3 separate regions of the Homo sapiens genome follow, and regions 2 and 3 are each linked to region 1. The links are contacts of gene promoters, found by promoter capture Hi-C in human tissues and cell types (Jung and others, 2019). All regions are on one chromosome and are shown on one strand. The core of a region is centred on a gene start or on the middle of the fragment in contact, and the rest is flanking DNA. Distances in the headings are between cores, read along the strand shown.

What was found. The method cuts DNA at HindIII sites, captures the fragments that hold promoters and counts their contacts. A contact is called where the count stands out against the background at its distance.
Region 2: a contact is called between a fragment that was not itself captured here and the fragment with the promoter of PRRX1 in region 1, in 2 of the 25 tissues and cell types used here (bladder and spleen).
Region 3: a fragment that was not itself captured here is called in contact with the fragment with the promoter of PRRX1 in region 1 in 1 of the 25 tissues and cell types used here (adrenal gland).

The regions. Positions count from the first base shown.
Region 1 is chr1:170,661,916-170,666,109 of GRCh38, reverse strand. PRRX1 (paired related homeobox 1) reads right to left here and starts at 1,979. Exons shown (of 4, transcript NM_022716.4): 1 at 1,651-1,979. The coding sequence starts at 1,891. RefSeq lists enhancers at 486-1,346, 2,547-3,074. The HindIII fragment of the contact is 17,405 bases long and covers 1-4,194 here.
Region 2 is chr1:170,716,171-170,720,205 of GRCh38, reverse strand. It overlaps PRRX1 (paired related homeobox 1), which reads right to left. Exons shown (of 4, transcript NM_022716.4): 2 at 305-480. Among named protein-coding and RNA genes, the nearest start is that of PRRX1, 54 kb to the right of the region's middle. The HindIII fragment of the contact is 8,530 bases long and covers 1-4,035 here.
Region 3 is chr1:170,599,215-170,603,196 of GRCh38, reverse strand. No RefSeq gene overlaps it. Among named protein-coding and RNA genes, the nearest start is that of PRRX1, 63 kb to the left of the region's middle. The HindIII fragment of the contact is 5,037 bases long and covers 1-3,982 here.

The DNA.
Region 1 (4,194 bases), core at 730-3,229:
CCTGGTAAAACGTTTAAAAACAATCATAGTATTTCTCAGTGCATTTTGTTAGAACTAAGAGTGCCTATGCAAACACTTAAGTAATGCTGCGGGTGCAGCCTCTCAAGCACCCAAACCCTAAAGAGAACGTCTCTGTCTCTGCGCCTAGCCCTTTATGCGGAACTTGAGGACACCTGGTTCTTCATTCCTCAGAGTTGGCCACCTTTCTCTGGTGTCCAGGCCAGACTTCCTCATTCAGTTCCTGTAGCAGTCTGCTAATGCATTGGGTGGATCGGCCCTAGGCCGCTTTTGGCTAAAAACACCCAGGGGCGCCCAGGCCGGAACTAAGGAAGCAGGGTGAAGACCAGGCGTCTTGAGCACACCAGAGGCTCTCTCTGCGGCTTGCTGTAGCGTGGCCCGCGGGGCCACCACTGTGCCCGGACCCTGTTTCCAATTGTTTCTATGTGCAGTTTGATTTGTATGTCTATTCTTTGAGAGTCTGAAATAGGCAACGTTTTGTGAAAATCATAGAATGCTGGAGGGCCCCCCGGTTCCACGATTTCCAAATTTGAAGACAAAAATGGTAACCAGCAACTACTGACATAGAAAGCAACCAGCCTCATTTGAGAACTTACAGCTAAGTTCAGACTCTTGCAACCTCGAGGAGAAGAGGGAGTATCTGTACATATCTGGCCACATGTCACCTGGGATGAACAGGGTGACCGGTCTGTTACAGACTTGGGGGCATGGGGATACAATTGCAGTCTCTTTTTAAGGCACTAGCGAAGCGAGATTTTCATGGGTCGCGAGGTTGGTCGGTGAGGATGGGGAAGGGAAACTGGACTTTTCTGGGCGTTTAAGAGCCAATAGGGAGAGCTCCTCTAAGGTGACACTGGCCTCCGCACTGAAGCTCGCGCCTCCCGGATGCAGCTCGCCTGTGCGGGATCATGCGGGGCTGGATTTCAGGTTTCACCCTTAAAGGACATTCCCTTTGCTTGGCCCGAGTTTTCCCAAGCCAGCCGGGCTTTTGACTCTGCCAGTCTCAAACCCATTTGCGGTAGAGGCAACAGCAGGGGGCAGAGAGCAGCTCCAGCGTCTGGGGCCGGGCGTTCTCTCGGGGCCTCCCGGTCGCGCCCGGCCTTACGGTGCCCGCGTGGAGAGTGCAGCCTGAGCAGCGCCAAGTCCTGCTCCCTGTGCCTGGTGCCCTCCCTCAAGCCGTCATACGCTGCCCGAGAGAAGCCCTTCCAACCCGACTCAGCATCTTTAACCTGCTGCTTTCCCAAACAGCGCTGGCTCTCTGAGTTTGCACCCCGCTAAGACCTTTTCCCAGCCCAGCCCCGCCGCCCCGCGTGCGGGATGAACCGAGCCGGTGCCTAGCCGAAGTAAAGAGAGTCCGCCGCGGACAGAGTCCCTGCCTGAGACCGCAGGGCCTCGGAGTGTCCCCGGACCTTGGAGCCTCTCTCCAGCGTCCTCCTTGGCTATGCCCTCGGCCGAGACCCGCTTTTCTCATCTGGTTTCCCCTGTGACTGGCCCTTCCTTTGAAGTCTGCCATCACCTCTCCTGGTCCCAGGACCTTGTCTTTCTGGCCGCGGACGGGCTCTAGCTGCCCTACACGGGTCCCCGCCCTCTGTCCCGGGCACACACCCCCGTGGGCATGCGCCCCTCACTCACTGTCCTGCTGCGGGGTGTCGCTGCCGCTGGTGAGTCCCGGCGACTCCAGCAGGCTCCGGCCAGCCTCGCCCACGTTCTCATCCGCCTGTGCCGCCACCATGTCCCCGGCTTCCTCCAGGTCTAGCAGGTGACTGACGGAGAAGTTCTTTTTCGCCTGCAGGGTGTCGAGGTTGCCCGGGCTGTCCAAGCGGCCGCCCAGCGCCGGTTGCCGCTCCAGAACGTGCCCGTAGCTGGAGGTCATGGTCTCCCCCACCGATCCCACCCACCCCCCTCTTCCCGCTCGAATCAACACCAAACGCTGTGGGCGCGAGGGGGGAGAGGAGCCGAGTGGGGAAGAAAGAGGGGGGTAGTGGAGAGAGAGAGAGAGAGAGGGAGGAAGAGGGAGGGAAGGAGAGGAAGGCCAAAAAAAAAAAATTGGAAAAGAGGGTGGGGGACCCCCTTCTGTAGAGCAGAGCGTTGTGCACCAGCCGCCTTCCGCAGCATTGGTTGATTTCCTGAGGCCAAGTCCGGCGCGGTCCAAAGAGATAATCCACAGTAAAATACAATATTAAAAAGTCACCCTATGTTCAAGTCAGGAGAAAAAAATCCCTTCCAACTCTCCAAAAGTGTCCACACGCACAGACTAAAAATAATAACAAGGGGGAGAGAGGAAAGCGGAGGCCAGCAGGGCGGGGGAGTTAGGCAAACAGAAGAAGAGAGAAGAAGGGGTGGGAGAGAAGAATCAAAGTGAATGGTTTTTTTAAAGGTTAAAAAAGTTATTCCCAGGCAAGAGTTCAAGCACCAACAGAAGAAGGCTTGTTCCAGCTTTAAAACATCTTCAAGAAAACGTGTTCCCCCCTCTCTGCACTCCTGTGGATTCTCAGGAGTGACTAAAGTTTCAGGAGGAGAGGGTGATGTCTTGCAGATGTATTAGAGAGCAGGATTCTCACTTTACTTTTTGTAAAGAGTAAAAAAAAAAATTAAGAATTAAAAAAAAAAGGCTTCAAGAGTCCGACGGAGGGTGCTGGTGGGTTCCCCCCTTTCCCCTTCTCTCTCTCCCCCTCTTCTTGCTGGGCTCCTTTTTCCTTCTCAGTTGGATCAAGAAGCTCTCTGGCACTTCAAAAGGCACAAACTGGCATGCAGAGGAGGCTTTGTAGGGAATACAAGAAAATTGGAGACCCCTGGGAGGGCAGATCTCGACTTAATAGGAGCCTGTAATTACGTGGCAAAGCCTTTGTGCTGTGCCTGACGTTTCACAGACCCCCTTTCTCCATCACAATCTCCTTCTTCCTCCTTTCCCTGGGACCAAAAAACAGTCTGATTAAGAAAACCCCCTTTGCCAACATCAGAGTTAGAGAGAAAGGGAGAGGGAGGGAACAAGAGAGAGGGAGGGAGAGAGGGAGGGAGGGAGGGAGGAAGGGAGAGAGAGAGAGAGAGAAAGAGAGAAGAGAAATGAGAGAGGGAAGAGAGCAAGAGAGCCCCTTTGGATTTCTAAAGGTCTAATTATCATTCCCCTGCAATAATATCACGGGGAGAAAAGACAAACTGAAACTCACAGTCACTTCAAACGTGCTGATTATTTTGCTTCGGCATTAACTCCTCCAGATTTGTTTAAGATCCTGTTGGAAAATCTCATTTGCATGTTTTGATAACAGCTGTGGGGAAATTTGGAAAAAATCCACCACCATCACAATCAAATTTTCTTCTCCTTCTGCCTTCCCCCAAACCGCCCCCCCCCAAAAAAAAATTTTCTGCTGTTCTAACAGTTTGGGGCGGAGTACAGGGAGAAAGTAAGCATATTAAGGCTATTTTTGGTTCCGTAGAGGGAGCCTATTAAATAATGTAATAAAAATAACAAAAGGGATGATAATAGGAAGTTCTCTCACGCCTCTCGCAAGGACTAAAGGCAGGTTGGGGAGATCCAGAGGGCACCGAGTTTATTTGAGGCTTTCCCCGCCATTAGGCATACCAGGACTAGGGCAATGAGAAAAGTACGTGTTTATTAAACTGGAAGAAAGGACTCCAAATATATATTATAATCTTTCTCCCTACCCCCGCCAATTTTGTAACTTCTACGGTAAGGCCAAAGTTGCTTCCCCAGGCGAGGACGCTAAACCCAGAGGGTCCCGCTGCCCAGATTCCTTGAAGCAGGCAGGAGCACTCCCAGAGGCAGGAGTTGGGGAGGCTTCCGTGCGGTTCTGCGTCCAGCCTGGCTGTGGTGGCAGGAGGACAGAGAGGGGCGGAGGAACCCCCATCTAAGTCTACGGATAATCCTCTGTCGTCCGTCTGCGGAGCCCTAACCTGACAGAAGACAGAGAGGTGCTGAGCAGTTTTTTCATGACCTGTTGGAATTTGGTAACAGCTTTAACAGTCTCATTAGAAATGAGTTACTGTATGACGACTCAGTAAAATATTAAGTGCTTATTTGTGGCGTTTTATGTTCTTTAAACGCGCACTCACACACACACACACGCATCCGTACTCCCGCACTCCCTTGATTGCTAGACTTTTTTTTTTTTTCGTCCTATAGTCAAGAGGCTCGACTGGAGAGAAAGAAGGGTACGA
Region 2 (4,035 bases), core at 1,171-3,670, 54 kb before region 1:
CCCAGGCTCAAGCAATTCTCCCACCTCAGCCTTCCAAGAAGCTGGGACCACAGGCACGCAGCATCATGCCTGGCTGTTTATTTATTTATTTTGTATTTTTGGTAGAGATGAGGTCTCACTATGTTGCCCAGGCTGGTTTCGAACTCCTGAGCTCAAGCAATGTGCCTGCCTCAACCTCCCAACGTGCTGAGATTGCAGGCATGAGCCACTGTGCTGGGCTATAATTTGTGTTTTTAAACAGTTTTCAGAGATGTGCCTCTGAGGAGGGTACTACTTGGTGCCAGCCTCTCACAGCTTGAGTTACCTGCACTCTCGCCTCGGTGAGGTTCACCCGGCGGGCAAGGTCTTCTCGCACAAAAGCATCAGGATAGTGTGTCCGCTCAAAGACACGCTCCAAAGCCTGCAGCTGGCTGCTATTGAAGGTTGTCCTATTCCTTCGCTGCTTTCTCTTCTTTTTTTCTTCTGAGTTCAGCTGGTCATCTGGAATAGAACACAATGATGAAAAGAAGCCAAATTCACTGTAGGAGTCCCAGTTAAGACTTTTTTATGGTATATCTATAGTGAGATCTTGCTTCATTTGCTCACATCTTTATCAAAGTCCTATAGCCAAATGCCACTTTGCATGTGCAAATGTGGCCATTAGCGCTCTCAAGTTCATATGTCAAGAATCCCAGCAACTCTAATGCTTGGCTGTTGCCTCTAAATCTGGGACAAGATCTGAACTGTCAGAGAGACATTACTTGCATGATCCTTGATGCCTGTTTGTCAAGGAAAATCTTACCCCTGCCCATGTTCTTTGGACTTCTCTAGAGATAAAGGAAGAAGAGTAAATGGTTTTGTACCTTATTTGTCTTTGACAATATTATGCTCACTCATATAGTTTAATAATCAAGTAGACCAATTATCTCCTGGTTCCTTCTCTCCTAACATATATACATGAACAAATACATAGAGTTATAGAGAGGAAACTATGTTCAAACCACATTACAGGGATTTGTTTTACCATGAACTCTCCTTGAAGCAGCAAGTAATTTCTAACACCATTCACTCAAGGCTCCATGCTGTTGCAAAGGCAGGCTTCAGAGGCCTCAGCCTAGATCAGGACTAGTGCTACAATGCCATCAACCCAAGCTAACATTAGCCTGGGGCTCACTCCCTGAGAACCCAAGAACAGGAAACAGTTCAGAAAGATCCCTGAAAATGTTTCACTCAAACTTGAGTTCTAGGACCCTGAGATCTTAGGGACCTTTGAAGAATCACAACTCCATTTTTACCTGTCAAGATCCTTCCTTGGTTTTCTCTGAGTTCCCCTGAAGGTAGCGTGGTGAGATAATTGTCCAGGTTGTCCATAGCAGTCAGAGTGTAGTATGCTCCTCTCCTGCTGCCCCCACCCAGCCCAGTCAGGAGTGATGTATATGTGAAACTGAATGGAATACCAGCTGTGCTGACACCTCAATCAAACTATCACCCTAAGGCCTGAGCTCTGCAGAGCCTGTGTAGGTCCCAGAGATTTGCAACACCATGCTGCCAAAACCCAAGTCACATGCTCCATCTAATGAACTTGACTTACATTCCCCATAGCTTTTCCCCAAAGAGGCTCAGCCCAAAGAAAATTATGAAGTGTTGGAGTGAGGATGGGGAGAACAAGGAGAGCTTGGCCATTCACTATTTAGAAAGTACTTTTGGCTCTCTCTTCTAATATGCAAATTCTCCTGATTCTCTCTGATTATAAACACACAATGTACTCAGCAAAACTATTAGCACAAGTCATGATGACACCTACCTCAGCTATAATATTGTTTTTATTACAAATTGAGGGAATGATCTAGATTTGTGTACAGAGTCAAAATGTAGCTTAAATCCAGAGGCCTGACAACTGAGGCCTCTAAGTCTTTTGCTAAGAGAATCCTTCTTCATCAATGCTTCCTTACCAGGAATACCCTTGAAGCTTAGAATAGAGACTGCACATTTCTTCTTGATAATTAAAGCACCCAGATATAGTAAATGCTTGCTGAGTTTGTTTTCAGGGAAAACGTGAAACTCCTCTTGTCCTTAGAAGACTGTTTCTGTAGAAAAAAATGTCAGATGATCTCAACCAGATTCCTCCAGCCAAGAAGCTACCATACCTTTCTCTCTGCTTCATGGTTTTGTACAGTCCACCTTCTCTTTGGTATTTTACACTTGTGGTGCCTTACCTCAGGGCCCAGCTTTGGTGGCACTTCTGTGACACTCAGTAAGAATGTAAGATCAGCTGCATCTTGGAAATGGAGCAAATTTAATAATAATTTTTGAGATCTACCAATGCCTAAAATATTCCAACCAACATCACTGATTATACCACTAGCTATTAGCAAAATTAGTTTGCAATAAGATCAGCACTAGAATTCAAACACCTAGGATTAAATACCTTTCAGTAGTTACATTGCACTTGCATTCTCCTTCCTATTTAATATTTGGAAGCATTCCTCCCATTCCTATTCATTTTTCCAAATCATTTTGTCTCGTACTTCAGGTCTTTCTAAGTAATACAAGCCCTTGTGATAGCACAATTATCTGAATTTCATGCCCCCAAAACAGAAGTCTGCAAAAAAAAAAAAGAAAAATCCTTAGCTTCTGTACTTTGTTTTAACTGAGACCAATTAGACACTAAGCCATTATTTTTAATCATATAGAGAAAATCCCCTATTAAGCCAATCCCATGACTTGTTTTCTTCTCTCAAAGAAAATTCTTTCTTAGGTGCAACCACAAATTATAAATCTTTTATGTTGTTTCAAAAGCCTATTTCTTCTTGTACTGCCAACTGCAATCAAGACCAAGAATATTTTATGTTTTGTTCTTAGTATTACAACCTGCTACATAATCTCAGTAGTTCTTTGAAATATTCCACTGTTCAATCAAATTCCACTGACTGTCTACCATAAACCACCAACTCCCCTGATGTGGGAGTAAGGGAAATGGAGAATTATAGTTTATGACAGGGAATAAATAGCTATGATGACCTGAAGCAATTCCAGCAAAAGTTTCCCAGTGAATGTTCTTGTTGTTTTTAACAAATGAAAACACTAGTTCAGATCATGTTGAAGGTGAGAAAAGACACAAATAACAGGGATCCAGGGAGTCTGGCTCTGGCAAATGTCCTTCAGAGTGCAAGTATAATAGAAAGAGACGATGAGCGGGCAACAGAGACAGCTCGAGCAGCAGTCCTGGGGATGGTCTGTCTTTGCTCACTAATCACAAAATGTGAGCTCCCTGTTTTTCCCCAAGAATGCAGAACAGGACCCAGCACAGTATCTTCAGCAGTACAAAAGGAAACATAAACACTGTAGAGGTTTACAAATGCAGGGTATCTGAAGGACCTGTGATAAACACATTTATCAGATTCTTGGCTCTGGTTGAATACAGGGGAGAGAAAGCAGTGTATTTTTACTAATTCCAAGAGGGTCATCTTTTCTTGCAAAAACAACTACAGTGAAAGTTGATTTTGAAACATGCTGTCTGAAGATACTGACATCCAACTGGATATTAGAATGCATCTCATTCTTTGGCATTCTAAAATGGGAAGGATTCACCAAGTTGTAGAATAACCAGCGGAAACATGAATACATTTTTTTTTTTTTTTTTGAGATGGAGTCTCGCTCTGTCGCCCAGGCTGGAGTGCAGTGGCGCGATCTTGGCTCACCGCAACCTCCGCCTCCTGGGTTCACACCATTCTCCTGCCTCAGCCTCCCGAGTAGCTGGGACTACAGGCACCTGCCACCACGCCCAGCTAATTTTTTGTATTTTTAGTAGAAACGAGGTTTCACCGTGTTAGCCGGGATGGTCTCGATCTCCTGACCTCGTGATCCACCTGCCTCGGCCTCCCAAAGTGCTGGGATTACAGGCGTGAGCCACTGCTCCTGGCCTACATGGATACATTTTTTATCAAAGTTGCAATGTTTCAAATCCAAAGTGTTTATGGATTTTATAATTTTTTTGATGATTGAGTAAACTGAAAATATGTAGTTATTGTTGCTCTTAGTAAAAACAAGCAAAAC
Region 3 (3,982 bases), core at 1,254-3,753, 63 kb after region 1:
AAATAGTTCGCCAGGCACGATGGCTCACATATGTAATCCCAGCACTTTGGGAGGCTTAGGCCAGTGAATCACTTGAGCCTAGGAATTTGAGATGAGCCTGGCAAACATAGCATAGTTTGGCTGTATCCCCACCCAAATCTCATCTTGAATTGTAACTCCCACAATTCCCATGTGTTGTGGGAGGAACCTGGTGGGGGATGATGGGATTATGGGGGTGGGTCTTTCCTGTGCTGTTCTTGTGATAGTGAACGAGTCTCACGAGATCTAATGGTTTTAGAAACAGGAGTTTTCCTGCACAAGATCTTCTCTTGTCTGCTGCCATGTGAGATGTGCCTTTTACCTTCTACCATGATAGTGAGGCCTCCCCAGCCATATAGAACTGTAAGTCCATTAAATCTCCTTCTTTTGTAAATTGCCCAGTCTCAGGTATGTCTTTATCAGCAGCATGAAAATGGACTAAGACAGTAAATTGGTACCAGTAGAGTAGGGCGTTGTTGAAAAGATAACTGAAAATGTGAAAGCAACTTTGGAACTGGGTAACAGGCAGAGGTTGGAACAGTTTGGATGGCTCAGAAGAAGACAGGAAAATGTGGGAAAGTTTGGAACTCCCTAGAGACTTGTTAAATGGCTTTGATCAAAATGCTGATAATGATATGGACAATGAAATCCAGTCTGAGATGGTCTCAGATGGAGATGAGGAACTTGTTGGGAACTGGAGCAAAGGTGACTCTTGTTATGTTTTAGCAAAGAGACTGGTGGCATTTTGTCCCTTCCCTAGAGATTTGTGGGACTTTGGACTTGAGCGGGATGATTTGGGGTACCTGGTGGAAGAAATTTCTAAGCAGCAATGCATTCAAGAGGTTACTCGTGTGCTGTTAAAGGCATTCAGTTTTATAAGGGAAACAGACCATAAAAGTTCAGAAAATTTGCAGCCTGACAATGCCATAGAAAATAAAATAGCATTTTCTAAGAAGAAATTCAAGCCAGTTGCAGAAATTTGCATAAGTAATAAGGAGCCGAATGTTAATCCCCAAGACAATGGTGAAATGTCTCCAGGCCATGTCAGAGACCTTCATGGCAGCCCCTCCCAACACAGGCCCAGAGGCCTAGGAGGAAAAAATGGTTTCACAGGTTGGACCCAGGGTCCCCATGCTGTGTGCAGCCTAGGGACTTGGTGTCCTGCATCTAAGCTGCTCCAGCTATGGCTGAAGGGTCCAACATAGAGCTCTGGCTGTGGCTTCAGAGGGTGCAAGCCCCAAACCATGGCAGCTTCCATGTGGTGTTGAGCCTGTGAGTACACACAAGTCAAGAACTGGGGTTTGGTAACCTTTTCATAGAGTTCAGAAGATGTATGGAAACACCTGGATGACCAGGCAGAAGCTTGCTGCAGGAGCAGGTTCCTCATGGAGAACCTCTGCTAGGGCAGCACAGAAGGGAAATGTGGGGTTGGAACCCCCAAGCACAGTCCCTACTGGAGTACCACCCAGTGGAGCTGTGAGAAGAAGGCCACCATCCTCCAGACCCCAGAATGGTAGATCCACTGACAGCTTGCACCATGCACCTGGAAAAGCCACAAGCACTCAATGCCAGCCCCTGAAAGCAGCTATGAGGGAGGCGGTACCCTGCAAAGCCACAGAGGCAGAGCTGCCCAAGACCATGGGAACCCACCTCTTGCATCAGCATGACCTGGATGTGAGACCTGGAGTCAAAGGAAATCATTTTGGAGCTTTAAAATTTGACTGCCCCGCTGGATTTCAGACTTGCATAGGCCCTGTAACCCCTTTGTTTTGGCCAATTTCCCCCATTTGGAATGGCTGTATTTACCCAATACCTGTAATACCTGTATTTACCCAAAACCAATGTACCCCCATTGTATCTAGGAAGTAATTAGCTTGCTTTTGATTTTACAGGCTCATAGGCGGAAGGGACTTGCCTTATTTCAGATGAGACTTTGGACTGTGGAATTTGGGTTAAGACTTTGGGGGACTGTTGGGGAAGTATGATTGGTTTTGAAATGTGAGGACGTGAGATTTGGGAGGGGTCAGGGATGAAACAATATGGTTTGACTGTGTCCCTAATCTCATCTTGAATTGTAACTCCCACAATTCCTACATGTCGTGAGAGGAACCCAGTGGGAGGTGATTGAATTATGGGGGAGGGTCTTTCCTGTGCTGTTCTTGTGATGGTGAATGAGTCTCATGAGATCTAATGATTTTGAAAATGAGAATTTCCCTGCACAACACTTCTCTTATCTGCTGCTGTGTGAGACAGGGCTTTTCACCTCCCACCATGAGTGTGAGGCTTCCCCAGCCACATGGAACTGAAAGTCCATTAAATTTCTTTCTTTTGTAAATTGCCAAGTCTCTGGTATGTCTTTATCAGCAGTGTAAAACGGACTAATACACCCATCTCTACTAAAAATACAAAAATTAGGCAGGAGTGGTGGCATGCACCTGTAGTCCCAGCTACTCAGGAGGCTGAGGCAGAGAATCAGTTGAACCCAGGAGGTGGAGGTTGAAGTGAGCCAAGATCACTCCACTGCACTCCAGCCTGGGTGACAGAGTAAGACCCTATCTTGAAAATAACAATAACAATAATAATAATAATTTAACAATGTCCTAAAATAAAGCTCAAGGGTTAAACTGTTTCTAAATAATTTAACAATGTCCTAAAATAAGACTCAAAAATATTTATAGGAATAAAAAATCTCAGCTCTGAGAGAGGTAAAATTCATAATATCTGGCATCCAATAAAAAATATTATCAGTCTTGCAACTCATATGATTGATAATATGGTATTTGAAAAACCCAATTAGTCAAAACTAACACATAAATGACACAGATAATAGCGTTAGTAGACAAGGTCATTAACACAATTATAACAGAATTCCAGATGTTTAAAAAGCTAGAAGAAAAATTAAACATGTTAATTAGAAACATGAAAGATATAAAAGAGAACCAAATTAAACTTCTAAAGATGAAAACAATGACCCAAATGAAAAATACAATGGACAGGATTAATGGCAGATTAAACATTGCAGAGGAAAAGATTGGTAGTGAACTTAAAGATACAGCAATAGAAACTATCCAAAATAAATCACAGAGAAAAATAAAATACTAAAACAAAAAAGACAAACAGAGCTTTAATGAATTGTGTAACAACTTCAAGCAGGCTAATATACACATAATTCCAGTCCCCAAAGTATTAAGGGCAGGGAGGACAGAAAAAAACTGAAGGAATACAGTCATCCCTCTGTATCCGAGGAGATTTCTCTATTCAGAAATCCCTACTAAGATACCAAAAATCTAAGAATTCTCAAGTATCTTATATAAAATGTCATAGTATTTGCATATAACCTATGCACATTCTCCCATACACTTAAGTCATCTCCATATTATAAGTAATTTACATTATATTAACTAATATAATACAATATATATTAGATATATAATATAATACAATGTAAATACTATGCAAATAGTTGTTATACTGTATTGTTTTTCATTTGTATTCTTTTTTATTGTTGTATTATTATTTTTATTGTTCTTTTTATCTTCAGTTGATTGAACACTTAGATGTAGAACCAGCAGATATGGAGGGACACTGTGATGCCAAAATAATGACCAAAACAGTTCCAAATTGAATGAAAACTATAAGCTTACAGATCCAAAAAGCTAAACAAATGAAGAAAATTACACCAAGAACTATCATACTTAAATTTCTTCAAAATAATAATAGAAAAAAATCTTAAAGCAGCCAAAGAAGGCATATTACCTACAAAGGAACAACCATAAGGATGATAGTACATTTTCATCAAAGTAATGAAAGTGAAAAGGCAGTGGAGCAACATCTTTAAATTACAATAATGCATCATTCAACAATGGTGACACAATCTGAGAAATGCATTTTTAGGGGGTTTTGTCATTGTGTGAACATCACAGAGTGCACTTATACAAACCTAGATGGTATAGTCTATTACACA